4 separate regions of the Homo sapiens genome follow, and regions 1, 2 and 4 are each linked to region 3. Evidence: promoter capture Hi-C in human tissues and cell types (Jung and others, 2019). All regions are on one chromosome and are shown on one strand. The core of a region is centred on a gene start or on the middle of the fragment in contact, and the rest is flanking DNA. Distances in the headings are between cores, read along the strand shown. Region 1 overlaps GPR180 (G protein-coupled receptor 180). Region 2 has its middle 46 kb from the start of LINC00391. Region 3 holds the start of DCT (dopachrome tautomerase). Region 4 has its middle 38 kb from the start of GPR180.

Region 1 (7,107 bases), core at 1,831-4,330, 140 kb after region 3:
AACAATTTAGGGATGATCAGAGTCCATAATACTTCTCAGAATCAGATGTACTCATATGAAATATTTCATCAAAATGTTAGGTAACTATGTTCTGTCCTACTGAGGTAAGATTCCACCCCCAGCAGAAATGAATGACTTCTTATGATCATGATGAACATGCTATGAAGTATAACTGATTTGTAAATTAACATATTGGAGTAAGGATTTGTAGGCCATCTGTCAAAGAAAAGCATTAAGGGTTTACCTCTTCATGAGTTCATTGGCTGTTTGAAAGAGTCAATCTGCTTAAGAGAAAAATTTAATTCCATTGTATCCCATTGGCCATAGAGTGGGGTGGGTGGAGGTGAGGCAGGAGTGAGGCCACATTAGCTTAAACTGATTGTTTAGTTCAAAGTGTAAATTTGTCACAGCTAAAAAAGCAACTTGAGAATTGTGACAGTAGGTCACAAATAATGTTTTAAGGGATAAACTTTTTAAAAATATCCTTTGTTTGGAAAAAACATATATCTAGTGATAGAATGGTGTGCTAATTTTTTTTATTTTTATTTTTTAGAGACGGGGTCTCGCTATGTTGCCCAGGTTGTCTCAAACTACTGGGTTCAAGCAATCCTCCCACCTTGGCCTCCCAAGGTGTTGGGATTACAGGCGTGAGCCGCTGCACTTGGCCCTAAATGTTTTAAAGTGGTTAATTTGAAGTTCTTTCTGTGAAAGAAATGAAATAGTGTAAGCTACTCAAATTGTTTCTGAATGCAGATGAATGTAAAGGTTAAATTTCATTAATGATACTTTCGACTAGTATAGATCATTATTGGAAGTTAATTTAGTCCTTTCATTTCCTTAATCTTTTTAAAGATGCCAACTTTTTTCTGTATTTTGGAAAGGCATTGATGGAACCCAGGTCTACTAAGAGCATTGAATGGATGGTTGGACTAAATTGCTCCTCAGGTCCTTTTTTTTTTTTTTTTAATTTTATTTTTTGAGACAGAGGCTTGCCCTGTCGCCCAGCCTGGAGTGCAATGGTGCAGTCTCGGCCCACCGCAACCTCTGCCTCCCGGGTTCAAGCAATTCTCCCGCCTCAGCCTCCTGAGTAGCTGGGACTACAGGCACCCACCACTACACCTGGCTAATTTTTGTATTTTTAGTAGAGACGAGGTTCCACCATGTTGGCCAGAACTCCTGACCTCAGGTGATCTGCCTGCCTTGGTCTCCCAAAGTGCTGGGATTACAGGCGTGAGCCACCGCACACAGCCTTCAGGTCCTTTTTAACTGTAAGACTTCATTATTTCATATGACCCTTATTTTTAGGACTGGTCAAGGCTCACTAGGAAGTAATGTTCTGCTGCAGTTGTTGCATGTGCAAACCCTGCTGCCTCTAGTGGAGTACAGATCAATTAGCACTTCCTCTCCTGCCTTCCAGGCTGTAGTCCTTTGGCTCAAAAGGTGGTTTTATGTATTGAGTAGATCCATGAGACTTTTCTGGATCCTGATATGCTTTTACTTGCCTCCTTATCCAGGCTTCCATTTTTGGTCTTTTTCTTCATCACCAATTTGGCATGTAAACTTTTATCCCAGGCTATAAAGTGATCACATTTGTGCCCTGTGCCATGCTTGGACCTCTGAATCCCAGTCATACCTTGCCTTGTCCTGAACCTTGCCTATGTCTTCCAGTGTTTTCCTCAACATCTTGAGTTGTGGCTAGCTTTTCTTTATGATGCATACTAACCGTTATGATTCAGTTCTTAGTTTTGTCTCCTTCTGACCTACCTTTTCCTGATTTTTGTGACTGATTTTGATTTTATGCTTACTCTTGTGTCTAAAAGCTGTCTTTCTTATACTACAATGGGGAAGTTACATTGAGTATGTCAGCAACAATGTTTAAACAAGGGGCAAAACCTCACTATAATCGTATGTATTTTCATTAAGCATGACATTCTATGCAAGGCTTACCTTCGGGGATTAATCATTAGAAAGTGCCAGAAGTATCCAAAAGCGTCCAGCCTTGTTATGTGGCTTCCTCTAAACATCACATCATTTTATTGATTAAAATGCTTAAAAGCTTTTGTGAATAACTCTACATTGAAGTATCAATGAGTGGTTCTTAACCCATCACTGTATGCATCTGGTTTAAGGTTATGAGGGTTAAAACAAAAATTCAGATATTCACACCCAGAGACTCAGATAGATTTGGTTTGGAGTGGAAGCCAGTTAAAGCTCTAAAGTTGATTCTTATGTACAGAACCGCTGATCTAAAAGTCCATATTTCACATTGTTTTAGTAATGTGTTTTAAAATACAGCCTTAAGAGGGATTCTTCCTACTTTGTAGCCTCAGGTATGGAATTTGTTTACAGGGAAAATGTTCAATTCATTTTAGAAACTTCTGCTAGTTTGCCTAATTATCTGCTACAAGTAGGAAAAATTGATTTGCTATGCTTTTTACAGAAAATTGACTATTACCACATGTCTCAGAGGTTTGAATTAGAGTAACCTGGTGCAGATAGTTGCAATTAATGTTACAGGTTATTCTGGTTAAATTTCATAATTTGTTTTCTTTCAAACCAATTATGTATTTTATATCTACCAGACTTTGGTTAATCCTCTATTTTACAGAGTTGGTCTAGATTAAACAAAGTCAGGCAAGTGTGATGCCGATTGACAAAGTACTAAATAGGATTATAATATTTTAAGGTACAATGAAATAAAACTGCTTCTTTAAAAGATTAGAATCCTTGTTAACTGTATTTGTACTCTAATTAGAGACCAAGAAGTACCCAGAATCCTGAGAGTGTTATTACCTAAAGGCGCATATAGACTGGTTTTCACTGGAATAATACTACAGGCTCTGCCACATCTGCCATCTCACTGTTTTTAAAATTCTAGCAGCTATGTTCATTCTTTAGTGTTATCCCTTTTTTCCTCCATGTCCCAAAAGACAATGGGTTGGATCTTCCATTTAGCTTCAGTAATGTGTTGCTGGTAACATGTTGGAATGTTTTTGGCTTAAAGTAACAGAAAACCCTAATGCAAGTGGTGTAGACTGTAATGAAATGAATTATCTTACATAACAAGAAGTTTTGCGGCTTCTCCAGGGTGGTTTATTTAGCATCTCTCTACCCTGCTATCCTCAGACTATCAGTGTTGTTCTTAAGCTAGCTGCCTCAAGTTCAAAGTTAGCTGTGGCAGTTCTGAGCATCATGTCTAGATGATTGCAATATTCAGTATCACTTTTTAGGAGGAAGGAAGTCTTTCCCAGAAGCTTCCTATCACATTTCCTTTTTCAGAACTGGGTCATAGCATCATAAGAGAAATGTAAGTTGACATGAAAGAAAGAAGATAAAAGTAGACAAATATGTCAAAAGGGTTAGGTTTACCTCCTACTGGTAAGAGTATGGGAATTTCTGATTGATTTAGACTAATCAGGATATATCTTGAGACACGTGAGTGTGGGAGACCACTGGGGCTCTGAGACAAGGATCATGGGGAGGCGGGAATGTCTGTTCCAGGTGCTGCCCCAGAACCCAAGGACCCTTTCCCCTTAGGCTCTCCTCCTTTCTCATTTACCATCATTTAGCTGGGGCTAAATTTATTGAAGCTGGCCTCTAAGTTTTCTTGCTACTTTATTTTGCCAATGCTGCTTCCTTTAAGCTTGCCTTAAACCTTACACATTTCCTTACAAGTGTTCACCACCTGTTGTATGCTCATTAAGAGTATTTTTCTTCTTCAGTGTATACTTTTTTCATGTGTATTATTAAGTCTTAAGTATAATAAGATTTAACAATTAGTATCCACCTGTTTTAAAATTAGATTTTAATTTCAAAGTGAACAAAGTGAACACAAATTGAGTTTAATTTCAAAGTGAACAAACAATTTTTGCTTGTGGCAAAACAAAAAATTGGTAGCTGAAGAGAGGAAGAAAACAGACTTTTTTAAAGAGATGATTTGTTTAAAAGAACACTGAGTGCAGAGCTAGCATTTTATCTTTTAAGCATTTTATGTACAGTTTTAAGGGAAGAATCATCTAAAATTCAGTGAATAAAGTGTGGGACAGACCCAGTTCAATTTGTTTAATATGTTATGTCAATGAAATAATTTTTGTGTTCGTTATAATGTTAGCTTTTTCTGGAAGATTATTAACTTTGAATAATCCTAAGACATTTTTTGCTGGTGACATATATCTTATTTTCCAGAGTCCCTTCCTTCTATATTATTCTCATTCCTCAGTAAATAACCTGAGGATTTTCTTTTCATGGTAGAGTTGTAACTTCATGGAGTCAGAAACTTTATCCTGTAAGTCAGAAACTTTAAAGATATTCTGTAAAATATTATAAATAAATAAAACTTTAAATTGAATGCCATGTTTAATTTTTTAATACTAAGAAGGAAAGATAAAAACTAAGATTCAAAACACAGGATAGCATAAGGAACTTTACTGACCCACAGTTGTTATAATATATTTAGCATTTTTATTTTCTGTCTTGTTCCGGTACTATAATAATCCCAGGATTATGTTGCCATTATTTCTAAGGCTGGAATGCTTTTCTATGTAAGGTGTTTAAAAAGAAAATATGTTCTTTCTTTTCCCTTCCTGAAGTCTAAACATGCTTTTTCACCTGCACTAGAAAAGTTAACTGTCCACATTTATATTCATAGAGCAGGAGAGACACCCAGTGGCAGAAATACTTTTTGCTGCTTTTTTCCCCCTAACGAGGCCAAAAGCCTGATTGAGCTATTTATTGATTCTTATAATTTGTGTCTTCTGATTGCTTTTACAAAATTATTTTCCACATAATAGAAATATTTTCTTCTCTGACTGTTAATTGGAGTTTACCCGAATGGGAAACTAGAGCAGGCTTGGTGTTCGCTATTGGAATGAAAGTTCATCCATAGACTCAATTAAGACAGCTCTATTCACACCACTGTTAGAGCAGTCTGGTGTTAGATAGAATGTAAAAGCCTTAATATTAGGGACTGTCTTGACATGTAAGCAAGTAAATGTTAGCTGTTAAACTGAAAGCTAGCCTGCTGCTTTATTATAAAAATTTTCTGAAATTTCTGAAAAATGGAGACTCAGTCAAAAGATTGCACGTGAACACAGAAAAAGTGACATAATAAGGTTACATGAAGACTGTACTAAAAAGCTGCTAGTAGGCACTAGAGGCTGCTCTAATGACTGGTTCCATTTTTAATACAAAGTCTGCACATTCTTTGTTCTTTGCCAGCCATCTGTCTTTCCTCACTTGTAATTTCTACTCCCTCAAAACTTTGGTTTTTATCATGGCTCAGTTTGATTCGTCTGGCCTGTCCCAACATCAGCTCCTTTCAACTTCAATTTCTATGGCCTCTTTCCTTTCTGCTTTATAGTTTGATCTACTAAGAGAAGATGATTAGCCTAACTTAGCTTTCAGAATTGTTACGTTGTTGGCCCCTTGCATTGGTAGCCATTTGGTTAGGTGTTAGACAATTTTCAGCCAATCCTGGCATGGAGTCGCATGATCAGCACAGGATTTTTTTTTTTTTTTTTTTTTTTGGCAAGAGCTGCAGACAGTTTATCTCAGAAGATATCTCTGGACATGACAGATATTTTGAAGGTTTGTCCAAATGGAAATTCAAGGTATTGGGACATTCCAGAGCTGTGGTCCTCATGTGTTAGCTATATCAGAATCATGCTTAGGGCTTACTAAAGCACAGATTACTGGGCTCTACTCAGAGTTTCTGATTCAATAGATCAAAAACTGGATGGCACTCAAGAATTTGCGTTTATAACAAATTCCCTGGTGATGCTGCTGGGCAAGAGAACACACTTTGAGATGCATTGTCAGGGCATATTAAACTGTTATTGACTGAGGTAATCTATTTCTAAACTTTTTACAAAAGAAATTCACTTTGGGGGTAAAATGTATATCTAACTGAATGCTGAAATCATTATTTTCATTTACTGTTTTCAAACAAAACTGTGATTTTATGATGAGTCTTTGGGTTCCCCTGACCATTATGCTTTCTTACAGATTGACCTTAACTAGTTTGGTTTAATCTGCTTTCTTGTAGTTAAAATTTTGCCCCAAGGTACAAAATTGTTTAAGTTTTAATAATTTTTTTTCTCTTACAAAGGTGAATGCTATGACTCCAGTTAAAAAACAAGTTCTAGAAATATATTGACAGGGAGATTTGAAAGCAGCCCAATACGATAACTGGCTTTGTTTTACTGAAGCAAACTCCCTTTCTTCTCTTCACAGGGTTACATGAGTTCTTTTTCCTCCTAGTCCTAGTGTACTTTGTGATTGCTTGCATTTATGCTCAATCATTGTGGCAGGCTATTAAGAAAGGCGGACCCATGCACATGATTTTAAAGGTTCTGACAACTGCATTGCTGTTACAAGCTGGTTCAGCTTTAGCTAATTACATTCATTTCTCCAGGTAACTCAAAACCACTAAAACTGTGTTCATCATTACATCTAATTAATCCTAATTAGTCCACCAAAATTATGCTTGCTTTGATTATAAACAATTTTTTTCACATTTGTAATTTACACTACTCTTCTTCAATTCCTCAGTTACTCCAAAGATGGAATAGGGGTACCATTTATGGGAAGTTTGGCAGAATGTGAGTATCTTTCTGAGCATTTTTTAAAAAGCTTTTACACTCGCTATCTGCTTTTTTTTTATTTCTTGTCATAGTATAAATTTTCTGTCGAAAATTGTTTAGAAATCAGCTTGACTGAGAACAGGATTACAGTTTAAGTTCCCATATGTCTTACTTAGTTTCTTCTTAATAATAGGTAATGTGTACAGCTCCTCGTTGTTTTTTTGTTTGTTTGTTTGAGACAGGGTTCTTACTCCGTAGCCCAGGCTGGAGTGCAGTGGCACAGTCACGGCTCACTGCAGCCTCAAACTCCTAGGCTCAGGTGATCCTCCTGCCTCAGGCCTTCCCAGTAGCTGGGATTACAGGCACATACCATCATGCCTGGCTGATTTTTAAATTTCCTTTTCTGTAGATGGGGTCTCACTATGTTGCCCAGGCTGGCCTTATACTCTTGGGCTTGAGGGATCCACCCACCCTGGCCTCCCAAAGTCCTGGAATTACAGGCATGAGTCTCCACACTCTGCCTTTT
Region 2 (6,980 bases), core at 1,368-3,867, 180 kb after region 3:
TATGTTAAAATATTAAACCAATGCTCTTATATTCTGGTACTCAGTACTCTTACAGAATATAAATAAGAAATAGTCCCTACTTTAGAATGGCTTATGATATCATCTAATGGGAAAGATAGCACAATTGGAGGGAGGAAAACCCTCAGGCTCCTAAAACTGATAACAGACACAAGTGCAATACATAGTTCAGAGAGAGAGAGAGAGAGAGAGAATGAACAGGCATGTGTGTATATCCTAAGAACATTCTGAACTGAGTAGATGTCCACACCTAGGTGAAATAATAAAGGAGAAAGCCTGGAGTGGATCTTGATTTTGTGGGAAGTGAAGCTTATACAATTTATATAAGGGTCCTCCTTAAGAAAACAAATGCAAAGTTAGGCATAAGGTCTTAGCTGGTGCAAGCAAGGCCCTGAAGCTTAAGATTTGTTAGCTTCAGGGTTGATCTGCCTACGCAGGAGAGGTCTGAGTATGTGCAAAATCCCAAGTGGTGGTTCAAGGAAGTACAAACAGGTTTAACTAACTAGGGTGGGAAAGGAAAGCTAGCAGATAGAGGAAATGACAATTACATTACTAACTGATTGATTGAAAAGGCTGGTCATTTTAGGGATCCTAAAAGCTAAGGAGATTAAGTTTCATGATTATGTAATTGGGAACTAGAGCAGATTTCTAAGAAGGAAAGTTGCATGGTTAGGGAAAAATTTCTTGCCACTGGGTTTAAGATTAATTAATCCATAAATAAAAGTAGGTACTAGGGCTCCTAGAGATATTTGTAGCAAGAAATGATGATTTTGTGGACCAGGATGGAGATTGCAGAAACTGAAAGGAAGGAAATGAAGTCATATCCAAGTGATTTTGAAGGAAATAGTCTAAATATGTGGAAGAAAACAGGACTGAAAGGTCTGGAAGTTTTCAAGGCTGAAGTGCAGAGGTTGGCAATGGATTCATTTTGATGTTACTTTTTTCTAACATAAGCTTCTTGCAGGTCAGGATTTAGGGCTTTAGGATTATTTTGCACTATTTTTTGTAGATGCACATTTAGTACATATCTAATATTCTTTAATATTCCAGTAATGTAAGAAATCTTGATAGTGTTTCCATGTGAGCTATTAAGGGGGAAAACTGTATAGCCCCTTCCATGATGAATGGAAGTGCTAGATTCCAAAACTACATACTCCAGAAGAGGAATGTGACTGGCAACGTGGTCAAAGGAAAAGAAGTTAGCCTTCGGGTTTGGAAATCTCTCCCTGTCTCCATGTTCTGAGCTTAAAATATTCAGATGGCTTCAGCTCAGTTACAGCCTCCCTTGGGTGTCCACAGGGGCCTTGAAGGAAGCAGAAGAGAGTTCATCTCACCTGTAAACACTGAAGTAAATGGATGGCCCACCCTTTGTATGCAGAGTGAAGAAAAAGGATTAAACACTGGCGTGGCAATGATGACCAGGCATTTTCTTGGAGGTTACACTTGAAAAACATATAGGGTTTTTCAATCATTTAAAGATAATTCTATCCCAAAGGATTGAAATAATCCAGTTTGGGCCAAACCTACCTGAAAACAAGACATAGAACATTTCTATGATTTACTCATTTTCCCTTCAGAAACTCAAATCTACCACCAGCAATATTGAAAAGATAGAGTGCATTACACCCTGCTATTCACTGATTTCAGCAATGGAAGTGTGAACGTGGGAAACCTGAGTTTATTCATCAGTTTTAAGAAAACCCTCAAGATATAAAGCTGGCTCTGTGGGAATCTTTAGTCTGATTGCTCTAAGAGCAATAGCCACTGTCTAGGAGCAAAAAAGGAGGAATTTAGTGGAAGCTCAGTTCAATTCTAAATGATCTGACTTTGGTTTTATCTGCAGTTTCTTTGCTATGAACCTATAAACAAACCAATAGGGCAGTTTTGGAAAGGAGAGTATTCACAAATCATAGTAACAAGAGTCAGGCCACTAGGGGGGATCGTTAAGCCATTTTGTGCAAAAAGAATGACTTAACTTTTGAAAATGACTGCAGTTTCATTATTTTAAGTCGTCATTAGTCAACTTTAAGCAGGCACAGCACACCAGAACTGGAATTCAATCTTTGTAAGCAAACTCATATCTCCACCTAAAGCGATCAAATGCCTGTAAACATCCCTTTCTTGTTTTAATTGCGAAAGGATTATTGTGGGCTTTGAAGTAATAGCTGTTCCCACTACCTGCTTCCAGAAGCAGCTGTTCCCACAGCATCACAGCAGGTGCAGCCCAGAAGCTGGGCCCTGCCCTTATCATGTAGCGGGTGGTATATTTGCAGAGTCCAATGTGTGTTCAGTCCTGAATTAGCCAACTTTGTTATCTAAATTCTCCTAAACCCAAAGCCTAACAAGAAAATAGCAAAGAGTAATTCCCCCATAATAATCGCAGAGGGATGGGGATCAGGGAGGATGTGAGAGGCCGGACTAAATGAAGCATTTTTTTTTTTTTTCAGACAAAGAGGCAAAACTCTAGATTTAAAAAAAAATGAGAGGGGGGCTGAAATGCACATGTGGAGATTGTTTAAACAAAACTCCAGTGTTTTTAGAATTGCTTCTCCAGCGGATCAGATATCTTGCTTGCCCTACGTTAATAATCATTTTCAAATCAGTAGCTAGAAGTCGGCTCCCTCAGCAGTTCCAAGGCTCCGTGTCAGTGCAGAGGCTGTGTGTGGGAAGCAGCAGAAGGCAGCCTGTTTGGAAAAAGGAGAGCAGGAACTGGGGGCACATCTCAGAAACTCATGATTGTTTCAGTCATTAAACACTGATATTTAATTTGAGCTTTGTAATCCAGGACACTATTATTTGGTCCCAAGCAAAAAGCGGGGGAAAAAGAAAATGAAATGAGTATAATAAAAGAGCAAGGAGGAACCAGCTGCTTTGGGCAAAGAAGGGCAATAAAAGGAATCTTTATAACTGCCGAATGGTGGAATAGGCTTTTTTCTCCCCGCCAAGCAGAATGTCAAATTCTGTCCCCCTTTTTTCCCCTCTTAAAGCGTGCTAAAAGGAAAATTCTTCACAGAATCTTAAAGAACTTTTTTGACACAACAGCTGCAAAATCTATTTTCTAAACAAAGATTTATACATATTTATATGAGCTTAATCCAGATTTTTTTAAATAAATCATCCTCAGAACTGCAGAGGTAAACTATATGTAAATACCTCAAGTAATAGGCTTGTAGTGCAAATCACATCATTTTATCTTCAATTTTGCATTCGTTTTTCTGGCTTAAAGGTGCATCAGAGATATGCATTTTAGCATATTCAGAACACGGGGCGTGAAATTAAATGTTTGACAGAGTGAGAAAAATATACAGACTTTGGAGATGCCTTAAAAATAGTAATTTATGCAGATCTAGAGGAGTGAAATCATTTGCAATGGAGTGACCCTCTCTCCAGGAATTTTGTGCTCAGTGTTCTTCCCTAATCTCCCGCTGTATCTTCATTTTTCATTGAACTAGCCAGTTTTCTGCGAAGCCGTCTTGTAGATAAGGGGAGTGCTAAAGAAGAAGAAAGAGGACGCTCGGTGAGGCCGTTTCCATTGCACTTTTACCCAAGGCAATGGGCAGAATTTAACGGATTCCTTCCAACATATGTTTTTGCCAGATAAGTAAACAGTGTGTGTCGGAAATGAAAAAGCATTTGCAATTTAATGACATTACAGCTCTCAGCTTAGGCTGGCGTGCTGCGAGGCGAAAAGCAGAAAAAGAGAGGAGAGTAGAAAGAGAAAAAGAACAAAGTTCATCTTCCCTTTTGTGCATTTTTATCAAAAAAAATATTACTTCTTTCCCCCTCTTGTTCTCTTTTTCTTTTTCGTCTTTTGGTTTTTTTGTCTCACTCATTTACATTTTTTTTTCTTTCCTGCCTTTCTGTCCTCTGTTCACTTTTACCTTTTTCTTATATTGCCACTGACTCATTTCTTTTTTTCTCTCCATTGTGTCTCCTTATTAATCTATTTTGGCCATTCAGTTTTACCTTATAAGAAGCTGTTTATCCCACAATGTATCTTTTTTTCTGTGTTGTACTCCTATTGCTATAGCTCATAGTCAACAGGATTGTCAAAGGGATTATAACGTTTCATTTGAAAGCTCTACAAATCTGCTCTCTTGCCTTCGGTACCTTCCCCCATTTCCTCTGATACTTGTCATTTTATTTCACGTTCATCGTGGTCTTTAGTTTCACCCCAGACATCACAGTACCCTGATGTCTAACCACTGATACTCACTGTCTTTGCATTGTATGTTGGCACTACAAGGTTCTAGAAACTTAACCTTGAAATGGCAGAACCATTCTCTTCCACCCTTAGTCAAGTTCAGACTGGTATGGACAGTAAACATACCAATGGGTCAGAATTGGTCCTTCCAGTGGCTCATGGTCAGGACAGGGTGTCATATAGTTGATACTTATAATGGGTCATCTTCCAATAGAAATTGAGCCCCCAAAACTGCTGCTGAGTTTGCTGTTACTTTTCCTGTTAAATATGGTGAGAGAGTGATTACTGATACTACAATCTGTATATATGAGTTTTATGATGGTTTGCTTGAGTATACGTGTGTGTTTGTACATGTGTATGAATTAGACTACGTGACAGTGTGCATAGTTGTGTGGAGTTATTTAAGGCAGTGTAGGTCTGTGAATACAGGCATATAGAAAGAAATGATTATCTTTCAGCTTTGATTCTACCCTAAATTCCAGAAGTAAAAGTTGAATGGAAAACCAATATTTTCTCCCCACTCAGGTCCATAACATGTTTATTTTAGGATTATTTTGACTGCTACTTTTACAGGCAGGAATAAGATTTTCCACCAGGTCTCCCTTTTGTGACAGACTAGTTAGATGACCAGGCAACCCCATTCAGAAGCAAGGAATGCCTCTCAGTCATTTTTGCTGCCTTGAGTTGTCACTCTCTCAATCTAAGCAGTTCCTGAACAAACAACTTTTAACATGATTCATCATTGCCTTTTTATTTTTGCAAAACAAGTTGACATATTTTCAATGTTGTTATCATGACCATTTGAATATTAGTACCCAGATTGTTAACGCAAATTTCATTCTAAGTATACAATTGTAAGTTACATGTCAGATCCCAAGGTTAACCTGCAGGTTGAGCATAATTGAAAGGACCATAATCAAATTGCAAGTCCTATCACAGAAGTACTGTACAGACTTTAAAAAGATGCTTAAATAAAATGCTCTTGTCTAAAGACATGTGCATGTTTTCACCGTAAAATTACATCTTCCACATCTTGCAGATCCGGCACTTGGTAAGTAAAAAGAAAATCTATTTGGACATGAGGATGTAAAGTAGCTGGAGGTGGTAATTTAATCAACCAAGGATATATTTCAATGTTTTTCTGGTCTTCTAGGCATTAGCACTTTAAATTCATTATGTCGGTTTGACAGATATATGCAGCCTTAAGGATCTAAAAATGAAATCCTAGAAGTATAGCCTGCTAGAGGATATATATTGAACTTAAGAGATTAAAATGGTATAACCATTGCAACAGAATGGAACATATCGTGTTTCTCATTTTTTTCCCACTAAGCATGAGTATTTTGCAGATGTAAAATACGGTCTTCTCTAATTATAAAACCTGGCTGAAGAGCCAGAGCTTTCTAACTTTTATTACTGATGAAGTGGATATTAGAAAGAAAATGTTGGCTTCATATGGAGTCTGAAGATGAAGAAGTCTTCCATTTGGGATTTTCTATATCAATAATTTATTAAGGAAAATAGTACAAGTGGTTACATGCAGCCTACTGTAAGAGGCAAGTACATTGCATGCTTCTCCTGTTTAAGGCAAATAACAAAAGAGCCAAATTATAAAGCAGGTCTTAACGTAACTGGGACGTTAAATCTACTATATCATTATGCCAATTTAGTAACGTTAATGATCTGTAATATTAATTCATCATCCTGGAAAATGGGGAAAGGTTGCCATAATTAACTATATTAAGCCACAATTAAAAAGTCATCCAAGCTGTTGTAAAGATTCTAGTGATGATAAGCGTGTTTGTTATATTATAAACCTTTCTGACCATGTAAATTTGGTCCATAAGACTTTGTTACAAACAGCCCCTCACTTCGAATTCAGATAAGTCAAAAGAGCAGCCACCCACGGAGGCAGTGGCACCGACTAGACGCCTTATCAGCCATTTCCATCGCCAACTGCAGTTTAACACTTTCTTACAGGGAGAATCGGCTTTGAAAGAGGTACAACCTTTTAGCATATCTACTTTAATTCCTCACAGGGAAGCAAAACCAGGCTGTCTAGTGAAATTCACATATGTCAGACAGACTATCTACTCCCCTAAGATTAGGGTCATCTTTGAAAGTCACATTTCAAACTGGCACAAAATGAACATTTTGATGTTTCTAAATGGAGATCCTATAACGTCTAAGCCTAAACCCAAGTTGCCTATCACCAGATGTCTGATAAGCTCTTAATTCTCCTCCCTACCCATTTGAAGTCTCTATTGTGGATGGGAGTCTTTAGGTTACAGACAATGTCAGGAGAAAAGATAAATGGAACCATGCATGGGGTGAGATGCAGCCAAGATGACAACCCATTTAACTTTCCCGTCCAAAGGACTCCCTTTGTCTTTGACGGGACAGATCAGCTGGTGATAAAGGACTATTTCCTCTTTCACTAAGAAATATGATAAACCCCAACTTTGCCTTACACCTACCGTTATTATCCTTGCCATTAATGATCATGAGTTCCTCCTCCCTAAAGCAACATTTAGTATGCTGCTACCTCTATGCATAAACCACCCCTGAAGTGCATCTATAATCAGTGACTGTCATTGCTGTGGTAAGCTGAGTGACAGAGGAAGTAACAGGGATAAGTTGCACACACTTGCAGCTGGAATTAGTTTATGGCAACTGACAAAGAAAACACATCACCAGCTTGTTTTGAATAGGGTACTCAGGATTTATATATGCAGAGGTTCATAAGGGATTCCCGTGT
Region 3 (7,267 bases), core at 1,211-3,710:
AGTAGCTGGGATTACAGGTGCCTGCCACCACACCCAGATAATTTTTGTATTTTTAGTAGAGACAAGGTTTCACCATGTTGGCCAGGCTGGTCTCAAACTCCTGACCTCAAAGTGACCCACCCACTTCAGCCTTCCAAAGTGCTGGGATTACAGGCGTGAGCCACTGCACCAGGCCTAAAGCCAGAACTCTTAATGTGAAAAAAGAAATCTAATGTCTGGGCACTCATGGACATAAAGATGGCAACAATAGGCACTGGGGACTGCTAGAGAGGGGAGGGAGGGAGGGGTCAAAGGTTGAAAAACTACCCACTGGGTGCTTCGCACACTACCTGGGTGACAGGATCAATCATATCTCAAACCCTAGCACTGTGCAATATATCTATGTCACAAACCTGCACTTGTATCCCCAGGATCTAAAATAAAGTTGAAAGTTAAAATTAAAAAAAAAAATCGAATGTCATTCCTACACCAACATCACAGGCCTTTGTATGTTCCCTTAGTAATACCTATTCAACCCCTTATGAAGCTCAATGACCTATATCCTCCTATGTTCCAGCATCCTATGAGAAGAGAAGTAAAAAGTATTTTTAAAAGGAAAAAGTCTTCTGCAACCACCCAGCCTACAACAGTGTCCAAGGGCTTTCCTGAGGTTGCCACTTGTGTTTTTTGTATTTCAGTGGCCCCCTGCCAGGCTTTGAGTGTTTATTCCCGAAGGGCATATGGCTGCTGGAAACTGGAGGTGGGAAAGATTGAAGAGGATTTGAAAAAGCCCCAAAGAGCTAGAGGAATGAGAAATGCACAGAGATGTCAAAGCAACAGGTAATGAGAGAGACCAGAGTCTAAAGGAAGGACACTGAGCAAATTTTGTGATGTCCGGTTCAAGTCCAGAGAAGAGTGACAAAAAGCCATTGTTATCTAATAACAACCCCCCGCCCGCCCCCCCCACCCCCAGCTCCTCGAGAAAGCTCTGTCTTGCCACGTCTCGACAATTTTGTCAAAGTTACAACCTGGTCATAAGCTTTAATGAGAAACATGCACCCTGCTGAGGTCAGGAGTTCGGGACCAGCTTGGCCAACATGGTGAAACCCCGTCTCGAAATACAAAAATTAGCCAGGCATGATGGCGGGTGCCTGTAATCCCAGCTACTTGGGAGGCTGAGGCAGGAGAATCACTTGAACCCGGGAGATGGAGGTTGCAGTGAGCTGAGATAGCACCATTGCACTCCAGCCACGGTGACAAAGCGAGACTCCATCTCCAAAAAAAAGAGAGAGAGAGAGATCTGTTCAAATCATGAGAAATGCTGAGACCAGAACACCTGCCTTTGACTCCTGTCTTCCGAATGCCAAGCTTCACCCATCCCTTTTCAACAAGTGCAAACCCATTTCAGGAGAGGGCACCGAATCCATCTTGAAAGGACTTGCTCCGAGTTTCAAAGCTGACGCTTTTAAGCTCTTAAATTCCCCTTCCAACAAACAAGCCAATAGTATGTTGGCATGCATTCATATAAGCAGGCTTGGCCCACGCCATATTTATTTAGTCTTCATAACTAGATGTACTAGAGGGTGTGAAGAATAAACCAGCACATCAGCCTTATTGAATATGCTTCCGACCAAAACCATCATTGGTTTGCCTTTCAAAGCCTAATCTAAGAGTCTCTGTCAAGAGTCTCATCTCTTCCTTAGAAGGAGCTCTTTCCCCAGCTCTGGCCCTCCCCACCAAGCTTGGAGCATGGGCCTCACCTGTGCACTTGCAGGTCCGGTGGAAGAATTTTCTTGGCCACAGCTCACGGTCATCCTGGTTTCGTAGGATGTAGGGACCACTCCAGGGCCTTGTGTCGGCTCGCACCTCTGTGCACTGCCCCCGGCCTTGCTGAGAGCCACAGACATTGGCCGACTCTGCACCCAGGCGTGGGCAGCACTCCTTGTTCACTAGGCTGTCCACCGTCATGCAGACTCGGGGGAACTGACCCTGGGCTCCTGGCAGGATTTTGCAGCCCAAGCAACTGAGCAGAAACCCCCACCAAAGGGGGCTCATGGCTTTATAATTGGGAGAGCTCTCTCTCTCTCTTACTTTCCTTGTCTCTGTCGTACTTTTCTCCTTATCTTCTACTCTTTCAGTCTTTTCTTTTCAGTATTTTTTATTTTTCTTTGCTTTCTATTCCTTTCTTCTTAAAAAAATACCCACAAGAATCACAGAGGTTACATGTGTGCACATGTGTACATGAACGTGCACACACAATTTTATGTGATTCAAACAACTAACAGACTTAATTTCCTTAGAAGCGCCTCTAACAACCAAATTTAATGAGGGTAGCGCTTCTCACCATCTTCCCCCGTTAAGTCAGGCTTTGTCTAATTGAGTTAATTTACAGAGCACCCAGTCATACTACTTATTATGCTGGTATTTCTAAACCCTCTCCCTCCCTCCTTAGCTCTTGACTTTAATTGCCTTGAACTCAGTTCAAAAGCCAAACACCGTGCTGCTTTTATTCTCTCTGGCTTGCCAAGCCACGGGGCCTTGGGGGCTTGTGTAAGGGCTGGGAGAAGCCTTCATTAGGGGGATTAGTATTACAGAAACCCTCATCATTAGCACATGACCCAAAGTGCACAATAAAGGAGATCACTTCTGGCTTTATTTCAGGAGGGCAAAACCATCTTCTTTATCTGGGCTCATGTGCTCCAGCCAAACTTGTGACCTCAGACATCCTGGGGAGTCAGTAGATGCAGTGAGCTCTTCGTCAAAGACCCTTTACACAGAAGCTCACATTGCCAACTACAATGCACTCATGGCTGCTTTCTGACATGTGTGCAAAAAAGACCACAACAGGGGGTCATGCAACTTCAAAAATAAAGAAACATTTATGTAGAACCAGGGTACAAGGAATTGCTTTGTTCCACAATTGGGAATCCTCTTCCCTCCAAATAATAACTTACTCTTCTCCTATTCAGCACATCTACGCAGCAATTTTTTTTTAATTACATGAAGTAGCATGCCACCAGAAACTCACAATTGTCATTATCTGATTGTATGGAAGGCACTGGAACCATTTGGAATGAAGGCTTGCAAGCAAATCTTTTTGATTAGACTAAAGTGAAGCATGACTGAGCTTCAGTCTAGAAAGCAATGCCTCCTGGTGCTTCTGGAGAATGGTCAGGTCAGCAATGGTGGCCACCTGTCAGAACATCCATTTATTTTTTCACAGTGGAAACAGGACTGTCTTGGTAACTGTTTCACAGTGGAAACAGGACTTAGTGCCACAAGGATGCGAAACGGCTTCAGCTAGTTTCTAAGAATATACTTGAATGTAAAGACACATATTGTTATGTTTCAAAGCAAATTCCTAAGGTGAAACAATTATATAGGTATTCCCACCCCCTGTACCTCTGTGCCACCCCTTGATGTTAAGTTGTTGTGACTAATTAAATGGCAATTCTTATGTCTGACTCTACACCAATATCAGCCTGTACCACAGCCCTACTGAATCAGAATCTCTGAGGATGTTCCAGACACCAACCAACCTTTGTTAGAAAACATCTAGGCAATTCTAATGCTCAGCCAGAGTTGAGAATCACTGAATCAGAATACAGCAGAGCTCCAAAGGAAATATTGCATCAGCATCAGCTAAAAGAGACCATGTGCAATAGTTTCCTGAGGCTTCTGTAACAAATGACCACAAACTGGATGACTGAAAACAACAGAAATCTATTTTCTCACTGTTCTGAAGGCCAGAAGTCTAAAATGAAGGTGTTGGCAGGACTGGCGTGTGTCAGCCAGGCGGCTGCACTCTCCCTGGAGACTCTAGGCTAGAATCCTCCTTGCCTTTTCAAGCTTCTGGCAGCTGCTGTCAATCCTTGGCTTGAAACCGCAGCTCCAATGTCTGCCACAGCCCCATGGCCTTCTCCCCATCTGTCTGTGTTTTTCCTCCATGTCTGTTTCTTATAAGGACACTTATTGGATGTAGAGCCCACTCAGATAATCCAGGATGATCTCATCTCAAGATTCTTCACTCAATTACATCTGCAAAGAAGACTCTTTTTTCCAGACAAAGTCACATTCACAGGTTCTGAGACATGGACATATCTTTTGGGGAAGTCACCATTCAACCTAACACATCATGGGTGGGAAGAAACTTGGGGTTCTAAAATCGCAAAATCTCAGGGGTTTTTGAAACCTTTATTTTGGAGCTCATTCATTCATTCCATGTATATTTATTGACTGCCACTTCATGCCAGCATTGTGACACTTGGGAATTTTATTCCAGGTTTTTGTGAAGCCTTGGGGCTCCATAAATGTTAAGATAAAATTTCTTGGATGTTAAAACTGATGGAGTCAATAATTCTTATGTCAGAATGCCCCAGGTCGAAGTCCTAGGATCTCTTTTCTTTCATTTCCACACTTGCTAGATAACTCAGCTAGTCTGAGGCCTTAAATGCAGGCTATCATGACTTTCCAAAATTACAACTCTGACTTTGACCTCAGTTGTGAGCCCCAGACTCATATTATCTAACTTCCTACTGGACCTCTCTACTTGAAGGTTTAGATATTTCTCACCCAAGTTGAGAACTTTTGCTCTCTCCTCCCAAATGTGTTCTCCATTGGTCTTCTCCATCTCCACAAAGAGCAGCATCACCACAACCCTACAAGTGATCTTTGAGTCTTCTCTTTCCCACCTCCCCATGTGTGCTTTCCAATGCACTTCAAGTAAAATCCGAGGTGCTTTGCATGTGCTACTCAAAGTGTGGCCAACAGATCCGTGAATGGTGTGTTCCTGGTTTACATCAAGTTAAGAACAATAAGAATAGAAATTGAGAGTCAACACTGGGAAATTTTCATAGCAATTTGACATTGGGATAACATTCAGGCATACGATCAGTAGTTTCATTCAAGAGGGGAGAGTCCGGCTGTGAGGTTGCCAAACGTGCATGGTGATGATCACGGAGCACAGGCTGAATGCAATGAGTCATGTGCAGTTGGATCACGTGTTAGTCTGTGGCTGGAACATTTTTCTTTTTTAATCATTTACCATGGATAGTTTGAGAACTAGCTTAAAAGATCCTCCATGATTTTTCCCTCGCCTGCCTCTCAATCTCTTCTTCTGGATGGCAGACTATTGCAATCACTATTATTCAAACATGCCCCCATTCATTTCCACCTTGGCCTTTGTCTTGCCATTCCCTCTGTCTGGAATAATCTTGCTCAGAGCCCTCAGCTTCTCAGAGAGGCCTTCCATGATATTTTAACACGTCTACAGCCAGCCACCTTCTCTCTACCACATTACCTTATTTTATTTTCTTCATAGCACTTATCACCATCTAAAGTTATCTGACTTATTGGTTAGGTGGCTGAAAGACTGTCTCATCTACTGGACTATAAGCTCCTTAACTCTGCTGTGTTTTTCCAACATGTGCAACAGTATTTGGCAAATAGAGACTACTTGATAAATAGTTGATGAATAAATATTCCCAATTCAAAACTGTATGTTCATCAAAAGGGCCTCATTATTATAGTGACTGGCTTTATACAAATTAAATGCTTTTATTTTGAATATATAAAACACTTAGGCTTATAATGACCACTATTATATTGGGGGTTTCATATTAGGTTTTATTAAACTGCTGCAAATGTTTGAAAACCACCAACCCAACATCACTACAACCCATGAACTCCCCCCTCAGTATTTCCAACAAAATATCACTAGTGAGGAGGTTCTCACAACATTTCAGGAACAGTTCTAAGGGTGAGGAAATTCTTCCTTTTCAATAAGTTTTTGGCCTGGCACAGTGGCTCATGCCTTGTAATCCCAACATTTTGGGAGGCCAAGGCAGGCAGATCACGTGAGCCCAGGAGTCTGAGATCAGCCTGGGCAACATGGTGAAACCCCATCTCTACTAAATATACAAAAATTAGCTGGGCATGGTGACATGCACCTGTAGTCCCATCTAGTAGGGAGGCTGAGGCAGGAGGATTTCTTGAGTCCAGGAGGTTGAGGCTACAAGTGAGCCGTGATTGCACCACTGCACTCCAGCCTGCAGAAAGGAGTGAGACCCTGTCTCAAATAAATAAACAAAAAAAAGTTTTTAACAGTAAGTATAATTTAAATGTAAATTTAAACATAAATGTTAAATAAAAATTTCCTTCCCCAATTCTTTCATCAAAAGCCTTTGGTAACCCAGTCAGGCTCCATAGACCGGGTACAGTCCATTTCCCACAGGCGTTTCTCCCTTTTTTTTTTTTCCAGACTAAATATTCTCCATTCCTTTTCATTTTCTTTCATATGACTTAGTTTGTTTTTTGTTTTTGAGACAGAGTCTCACTGTGTAACCCAGGCTGGAGTGCAGTGGTGCAATCTTGGCTCACTGCAATCTCCACCTCCCAGTTTAAGCAATTCTCCTACCTCTGCCTCTCGAGTACCTGGGACTACAGGCACCCACCACCACATCTGGCTAATTTTTGTATTTTCAGTAGAGACGAAGTTTCACCATGTTGGCCAGGCCGGTCTCAAACTCCTGACCTCAGGTGATCCTCCCACCTCGGCCTCCCAAAGTGCTGGGAGTTTACAGGTGTGAGCCACCGTGCCCGGCCCATATGACTTAGTTTTAAATCTCCCCATCAGCATGGTCTTTTTTACGGACAACACAGTTCACGATTTGACCTCTGAATGCAGGTTTCCCATAACTTAATTCAATGTTCCTGCTACGATCTAAGCAAAGATAACCGAAAAAGAATTACCTTGTAAGCTTTGCTAGACAGTCACATCACCTCATCAATTTTGTCTACATCCACTCAGGCTAACTCACGCTGCAGTTAAGACCTCAAAATGTTATTTGGCTTATAAAAGAAATGTTTATTTCTTATGCAGCTGCACATCCACCACATGTCAGCTGTGACTGTGCTGTACACTGTGTTCACTCCAGGACCCAGGGGGAAACAGCATCTTTTCATTCTTTTCATTCTGCTAATTTTGCGTCAAAGTAGAGGTCAGTGATGGGCCACTACTTGGAAGAGGTCCACCTTACTCACGTCTGCTCCCACCCCATTGGCAAAAAGCAAGTCCGCGGGCAAGACAGCTGCTCTCAAAGACAGGGGTTCTGTGAGGATGGCCCCTTTAGGGAGAGTCAAGAAGTATTTTATTTTTACTGCATTTGAAATCAACTTAAAGCCTTATGTCATTTTCATATAGCTTTCACAAGGCTGCCTTAAAGTCAGATGCCTCTCATATCCCCATCTGCTCTTCTATTCGTATGGAATTGCCTTTTGAGGTCTGTAT
Region 4 (6,880 bases), core at 795-3,294, 160 kb after region 3:
CCACAACGTGGGAATTATGGGAGCTACAATTCAAGATGAGATTTTGGTGGGGACACAGCCAAATCATATCACACCTCATACAAATATTAAAAGGAATCATAGATCTAAATGTAAAACATAAAACTAGAAAACTTTTAGAACACAGGAGAAAATCTTTATGATGAGGTTATGCAAAGAATTCTTAGACACCTAAAACATAATCCACAGAAGATAAAAAATGGCAAATTTGATTTCAAAATGAAAAACTTTTGTTCTGCAAAAGACACTGTCAAGAGAATGAATAGACAGGCAATAGTCTGGGAGAATATTTGTAAATATGATAAAGTTTAATAAAGGATTCCATATAAAGAATGTATTAAAAACTCTTAAAACTCTACAGTGAGAAAGCAACCCAATTAAAAAATGAGCCAAAATCTTGAACAGACATTTCACCAAAGAATAAATATACAGCTAGCAAATTAACACATGAGAAGATGTTCACTATAATTAGTCATTAGGGAAATGCAAATTAAAAGGTTGGAGAGATACTACTACACATCTATTAAAATAGCTAAAATAAAAATACTGAAATTACCAAGTCCTGGAAAGGATGTGGAGCAGCTGGAACTCTCCTACATTGCTTGTGGGAATGCAAAATAGGAGAGCCATTCTGAAAAACAGTTTTGCAGTTTCTTATAAAGTTAAATTACCATATGACCCAGCAATTCCACTCCTTGGTATTAACCCTAGAGAAATGAATGGCTCATACAAAAACCTGTGCATACTGTTTATAGCAGCTCCATTCATAATTATAAAAAACAACGACCCAGATGTCCTGAATTGATAAAGTATGATGTATCCCTACAAAGGAATATTATTAGTAATAAAAGGAAACTTGATTCACACAACTTGTATGAGAATCAAAGGCCTTATGTTGGATGAAAGAAGCTAGTCTTAAAAAGTTACATGTTATTGTATGATTCAACTTAGATGGCATTCTCATATAGACAAAGCTACAGTAATGGGGAAAACATCAGTGGTTGCCAGGAATTACAGGTAAGGACAGGGTATGATTACAAAGGGGTAACACCAAGGAGTTTTGAGGGAGGTGATGGAACTCTTCTTTATCTTGACTGTGTAGTGGTTATCTCAGTCTAGATGTATGTTAAAATTCAAAGAATTGTATATTAAAGAAGTCAATTTTACTGTATCATGATTTTTTTAATTGTACTTTAAGTTCTAGGGTACATGTGCACAGTGTGCGGGTTTGTTACATATGTGTACATGTGCCATGTTGGTGTGCTGCACCCATTAACTCGTCATTTACATTAGATATATCTCCTAATGCTATCCCTCTCCCCTCCCCCTACCTCACGACAGGTCTCGGTGTGTGATGTTCCCCTTTCTGTGTCCAAGTGTTCTCATTGTTCAATTTCCACCTATGAGTGAGAACATGCGGTGTTTGGTTTTCTGTCCTTGAGGCAGTTTGCTGAGAATGATGGTTTCCAGCTTCATCCATGTCCCTATGAAGGACACAAACTCATCCTTTTTTATGGCTGCATAGTATTCCATGGTGTATATGTGCCACATTTTCTTAATCCAATCTATCATTGATGGACATTTGGGTTGGTTCCAAGTCTTTGCTATTGTGAATAGTGCTGTAATAAACATGTGTGCATGTGTCTTTATATCAGCATGATTTATAATCCTTTGGGCATATACCCAGTAATGGGATGGCTGGGTCAAATGGTATTTCTAGTTCTAGATCCTTGAGGATTCGCCACACTGTCTTCCACAATGGTTGAACTAGTTTACAGTCCCACCAACGGTGTAAAAGTGTTCCTATTTCTCCACATCCTCTCCAGCACCTGTTGTTTCCTGACTTTTTAATGATCACCATTCTAAATGGTGTGAGATGGAGTCTCATTGTGGTTTTGGTTTGCATTTCTCTGATGGCCAGTGATGATGAGCATTTTTTCATGTGGCTTTTCGCTGCATAAATGTCCTTTTGAGAAGTGTCTGTTCATATCCTTTGCCCACTTTTTGATGGGGTTGTTTTATTTTTTCTTGTAAATTTGTTTAAGTTCTTTGTAGATTCTGGATATTAGTCCTTTGTCAGATGGTAGATTGCAAAAATGTTCTCCCATTCTATAGGTTGCCTGTTCACTCTGATGGTAGTTTCTTTTGCTCTCAGAAGCTCTTTAGTTTAATTAGATCCCATTTGTCAATTTTGGCTTTTGTTGCCATTGCTTTTGGTGTTTTAGACATGAAGTCCTTGCCCATGCCTATGTCCTGAATGGTATTGCCTAGGTTTTCTTTTAGGGTTTTTATGGTTTTAGGTCTTACATTTAAGTCTTTAATCCATCTTGAATTAATTTTTGTATAAGGTGTAAGGTAGGGATCCAGTTTCAGCTTTCTACATATGGCTAGCCAGTTTTCCCAGCACCATTTATTAAATAGGGAATCCTTTCCCCATTTCTTGTTTTTGTCAGGTTTGTCAAAGATCAGATGGTTGTAGATGTGTGGTATTATTTCTGAGGCCTCTGTTCTGTTCCATTGGTCTATATCTCTGTTTTGGTACCAGTACCATGCTGTTTTGGTTACTGTAGCCTTGTAGTATAGTTTGAAGTCAGGTAGCATGATGCCTCCAGCTTTGTTCTTTTGGCTTAGGATTGTCTTGGCATTGTGGGCTCTTTTTTGGTTCCATATGAACTTTAAAGTAGTTTTTTCCAATTCTGTGAAGAAAGTCATTGGTAGCTTGATGGGGATGGCATTGAATCTATAAATTACCTTGGGCAGTATGGCCATTTTCCCAATATTGATTCTTCCTATCCATGAACATGGAATATTCTTCCATTTGTTTGTGTCCTCTTTTATTTTGTTCAGCAGTGGTTTGTAGTTCTCCTTGAAGAGGTCCTTCACATCCCTTGTAAGTTGGATTCCTAGGTATTTTATTCTCTTTGAAGCAATTGTGAATGGGAGTTCACTCATGATTTTTTTAAATAAAATAAAAAATGAATGTTGTTTAATGCCTTTTCATCATCCAAGAATATGATGATATAATTATTCTCTTTTGTTCTATCAACATGGTGAGCAGCAGTAATAGATTTCCTGATGTAGAACCATCATTCAATACATTTTGGAAAGTTTTATCATCCCAAACTGATGAGATTTTTTTAAAAAAACGGCCAGACACGCTGGCTCTCACCTGTAATCCCAGCACTTTGGGAGGCCGAGGCGGGTGGATCACTTGATGTCAGGGGTTCAAAACCAGCCTGGCCAACATGGTGAAACCCCGTCTCTACTAAAAATACAAAAATTAGCTGGGCATGGTGGCATGTGGCTGTAATTCCAGTTACTGGGGAGGCTGAGGCAGGAAAATCACTCGAACCCAGGAGGCAGAGGTTGCAGTGAGCCGTGATCATGCCACTGCACTCCTGCCTGGGCGGCAGAGCAAGACTCCGTTTCAAAAAAAAAAAAAAAATCCGGATACTTAATATGGTATAATCTCTAGCAGTATGAAGAATGAGAACATTCAGATTCACTCTCGAGTCATATCTGTTTGCTTTGAAAAGTCTATTTAAAATCAGCTCTTTTTTTTTTGTTTTTTTTTTTTTTTTTGAGACAGTCTTGCTCCGTTGCCCAGGCTGGAGTGCAGCGGCACAATCTCAGCTCACTGCAACTTCTGCCTCCCGGTTTCAAGCAATTCTCCTGCTTCAGCCTCCCGAGTAGCTGGGATTATAGGCTCCCGCCACCACGCCCTGCTAATTTTTGTAGTTTTAGTAGAGACGGGGTTTCACCATGTTGGCCAGGCTGGTCTCAAATTCTCGACCTCAAGTGATCCACCCACCTCAGCCTCCCGAAGTGCTGGGATTACAGGCGTGAGCCACCACACCTGGCAAGTTGTACTGTTTGAATTTTTGCTTTATACATCACTTATATTTCAGATTTATTGCCACTAGGTGCTGTAAAATATGGCTGGTTAGGTATAAAAGATGTTGAAACCTTTCACAATTAGAAGGTATTATGATATACTGGAAAAGAGCATGGCCTTTGTGGCAAGACAGACCTGAATTCAAATCTTGGCTGTGCCATTTTTCAACAATTTTCTTATTTGTAATCTGTTTCAGAGCAAACAGTCATTCTTTTAGTACAGGAAAAGGTCCTACAAGATAGAGTGAGAAGTGGCCAGATCTGAGAGATGAGTTCTGATATTAGGAGCTCATGGAATTGTTGTAAAGATTATGTATGGTGCTTGTTCCCACTCAGTGCAATGCTCATTGTTTATAGACCTGAAGGTTTTGTGTAAAATTTTCAGCGAGCCTGATGTTCTTCCTAATCTGTCTGTTCGTGGAGATAATATTTAAATGTGCATGAGATGAAATGTTTGTTTTAAATAATCATACATATGTGGTTAGAACAGAAAGTTAGGTGTGTTTGGGATATGTTCAAGATTCTAATTCACACATGACTGCATTCCAACTTACTCCCACACAAAATAAACTTTTAAATCTCTTGCCTAGCCTGTGAGCCTTATAGATCTTTCAGAAGATTAGTTTTTAAGACTTACTCAGAAGTCAATGTTTGTAAAAGGCTTTTTTTTTTTTTTTTTTTTTTTTTGGCGAGGGGGCCAGGGTAAGTAAGAGACAGATTGTTTCAGTGCAAAGTGGTTTCTTTCTGGGTACACCACAGATTGATCTAACTTATGTTCCTCGTCAAATTAGTAGACTATGTTTTATTTCATTTTGTAAAGACAGCAGCTTTTGTGGAAATAAATGATACCTGGTAGTTGTTAAATTTTAATATTTCCAAACTAACAAGGCTTTTAAATCCCTGTGAATTCTATCTTTGATTGTTCTTCAAAGAATGTAGAGTGGTTCATAGAGTTAACCTGAGAATTCAAGATGGAAAACATTCCTGGCAGAGGAAGGTTGGGTTTTAAACACATAGCAAAAATTACAGATTATGGCTTCTATCTAGATTTTAAGGTCATAGGTCTTTCACCTTTTAAAATATGAATTCCCTTCTAGAGAGCAACATTTCCTGCCAGCTCTTCAGCTTCCAGGAACCCCTCTCTCAGATCCAGCCACTCCTCACTCTATCCAGTGAGAACTCTTCAGTGTGCTAAAAGAATCACTGTTTGCTCCAAACCAGATGTTTCCCTCCAGGGCTCTGCTTTAAGTCGGTAAGGCAATATTTCCTGCCCTTTGTCTTCTCCGTATTTTTCATACTTCTCCTCTTTATCATAATGTTGTTTTAGTTTTTCTGATTCTTGATGATACACCACTGTCAGCTCAAGCTTATGCTGAATTTCAACAGCTGTGACATGTCTAAACTGCATTATCTCGAAAACATTGGCTCTAGTGAAAACTAGAAAGGAGCCAAATTAATAAAACAAAACATTTCAAAGGGTTCCTATGGATACATCCTGAAACTAGGAAGTACATACTGAGTTGAGTTGACTCACTCAGCCTGTAATAGCCTCTTCTACACTGCTGCAGCATTTGTGTACACACTGTATAATACATGCTTCAGGAGAATTGGAGCATCTGATGATTGCAATCACATCACTAAAGGTGCACCTTGTTGCCTATGAAATCCATTCTTAAATGGGTTATTGTGTTTGAAGTGATTTATTACAATCTTTAGAGATAAAATATAAATACCATACTAGGGGTGTGGAAACCAAGGTACAAAATGATATGTTTTATGTAGAGGAGTAATCAGAAAATAATGAGTATGCATTCTAATAAGGGTAAAGTCACTAGAGCAGATTGAAAAGACTTCCTTTTATTGCAAGTTGAACCTGTGCAAAGCTGGACTCAGGCAGTAATAACATGATGCTACGTTCCTTTGCCTCTGGTTTTATGAGATCTTTATGCGTCCAGTGTGACTTTCTTCTTTATATATTCATGTTTTAGTTTTAATATATCTGCCTTGAGTTTGATTTTTTTTTTTTAGGGAGCTTCTGGGCAGGAATGTAAACACTACTGTACAGCCTCTGGGTTATAAGTGGTGGGGGCGGAGGTGGTGGCGGAGGAGGAGTCAGAAAAGGAGGAATAGATTCTGAAGTGAAGATCAGCTTATTTTTTATTTGAAAAGGAAATGCTTTTTATCTCCTTATATATAATGACTTTTTTCTGGGTTATTTGCGTATGCTTGGCCTTTTCTGTTAGTTCTTCATCTTTTTCTTTACACTTGCTAAGAACTGTGCCTACAATGCATATTGAAAATATTTTTCCTGCTTTGTGATTTGCTTTTCAGTTTTTTATATGATTGTTTTGGCATACAGAAATTTAAAGCTTTCATATAATCAAGTATGTGAATATTTTCCTCTGGGGTTCCTGCGTTTGGTTTTCTTCAGTACCCAAGATTCCATCTTCACTGGCATCTGTATACACTAATGCCATGGCTTCAATTGTTACAATCAATCTTTAATCTACTTGGAATTTATTTTTATATAAAACAATAGTTCTTATCCAGGCTATGCATTAGAATCACATGAGAAAAAAAATATTCATGCCTAGATTCCATCCCAGACTAATTTGTCGAGAATCTCTGAGGGTGGGGTGTGGTCACTGTATTGTTTCTGAATTTCTGCAAGTGACTTGAGATGTACAACCAGACTCAAGAACCGCTGTGTAAAGGGTCAGGTAGGGATCCAACATTTTCTTTTTCCAAATTGTTCCAATCCACCCTGCAAAGACATTTTTGAAGAATGCTGATGTACAAATTGCCATGATAAAATAAATGTTAAGTTAAAAAAAAATGAAAACTTCATATATGCCAATACTCTCCAATTCCAACTTTGTGCTACTATATATAGTATTATATAAGAACTGAAAAAATGCAACCAAATCTTGATGATTATCTCAGGGTGGTGGAATTTAGATTTTCTTAT

The links. The method cuts DNA at HindIII sites, captures the fragments that hold promoters and counts their contacts. A contact is called where the count stands out against the background at its distance.
Region 1: a fragment that was not itself captured here is called in contact with the fragment with the promoter of DCT in region 3 in 5 of the 25 tissues and cell types used here (dorsolateral prefrontal cortex, lymphoblastoid cells, mesenchymal stem cells and 2 more).
Region 2: a contact is called between a fragment that was not itself captured here and the fragment with the promoter of DCT in region 3, in 2 of the 25 tissues and cell types used here (dorsolateral prefrontal cortex and lymphoblastoid cells).
Region 4: a contact is called between a fragment that was not itself captured here and the fragment with the promoter of DCT in region 3, in 2 of the 25 tissues and cell types used here (mesenchymal stem cells and spleen).

The regions. Positions count from the first base shown.
Region 1 is chr13:94,612,919-94,620,025 of GRCh38, forward strand. GPR180 (G protein-coupled receptor 180) reads left to right here. Exons shown (of 9, transcript NM_180989.6): 4 at 6,232-6,412; 5 at 6,550-6,599. Among named protein-coding and RNA genes, the nearest start is that of GPR180, 15 kb to the left of the region's middle. The HindIII fragment of the contact is 4,111 bases long and covers 1,026-5,136 here.
Region 2 is chr13:94,658,926-94,665,905 of GRCh38, forward strand. No RefSeq gene overlaps it. Among named protein-coding and RNA genes, the nearest start is that of LINC00391, 46 kb to the right of the region's middle. RefSeq lists enhancers at 1,843-2,344, 2,673-4,262. The HindIII fragment of the contact is 4,944 bases long and covers 146-5,089 here.
Region 3 is chr13:94,477,222-94,484,488 of GRCh38, forward strand. DCT (dopachrome tautomerase) reads right to left here and starts at 2,461. Exons shown (of 8, transcript NM_001922.5): 1 at 1,740-2,461. The coding sequence starts at 2,034. The HindIII fragment of the contact is 3,749 bases long and covers 1,534-5,282 here.
Region 4 is chr13:94,636,375-94,643,254 of GRCh38, forward strand. No RefSeq gene overlaps it. Among named protein-coding and RNA genes, the nearest start is that of GPR180, 38 kb to the left of the region's middle. The HindIII fragment of the contact is 7,470 bases long and covers 1-5,779 here.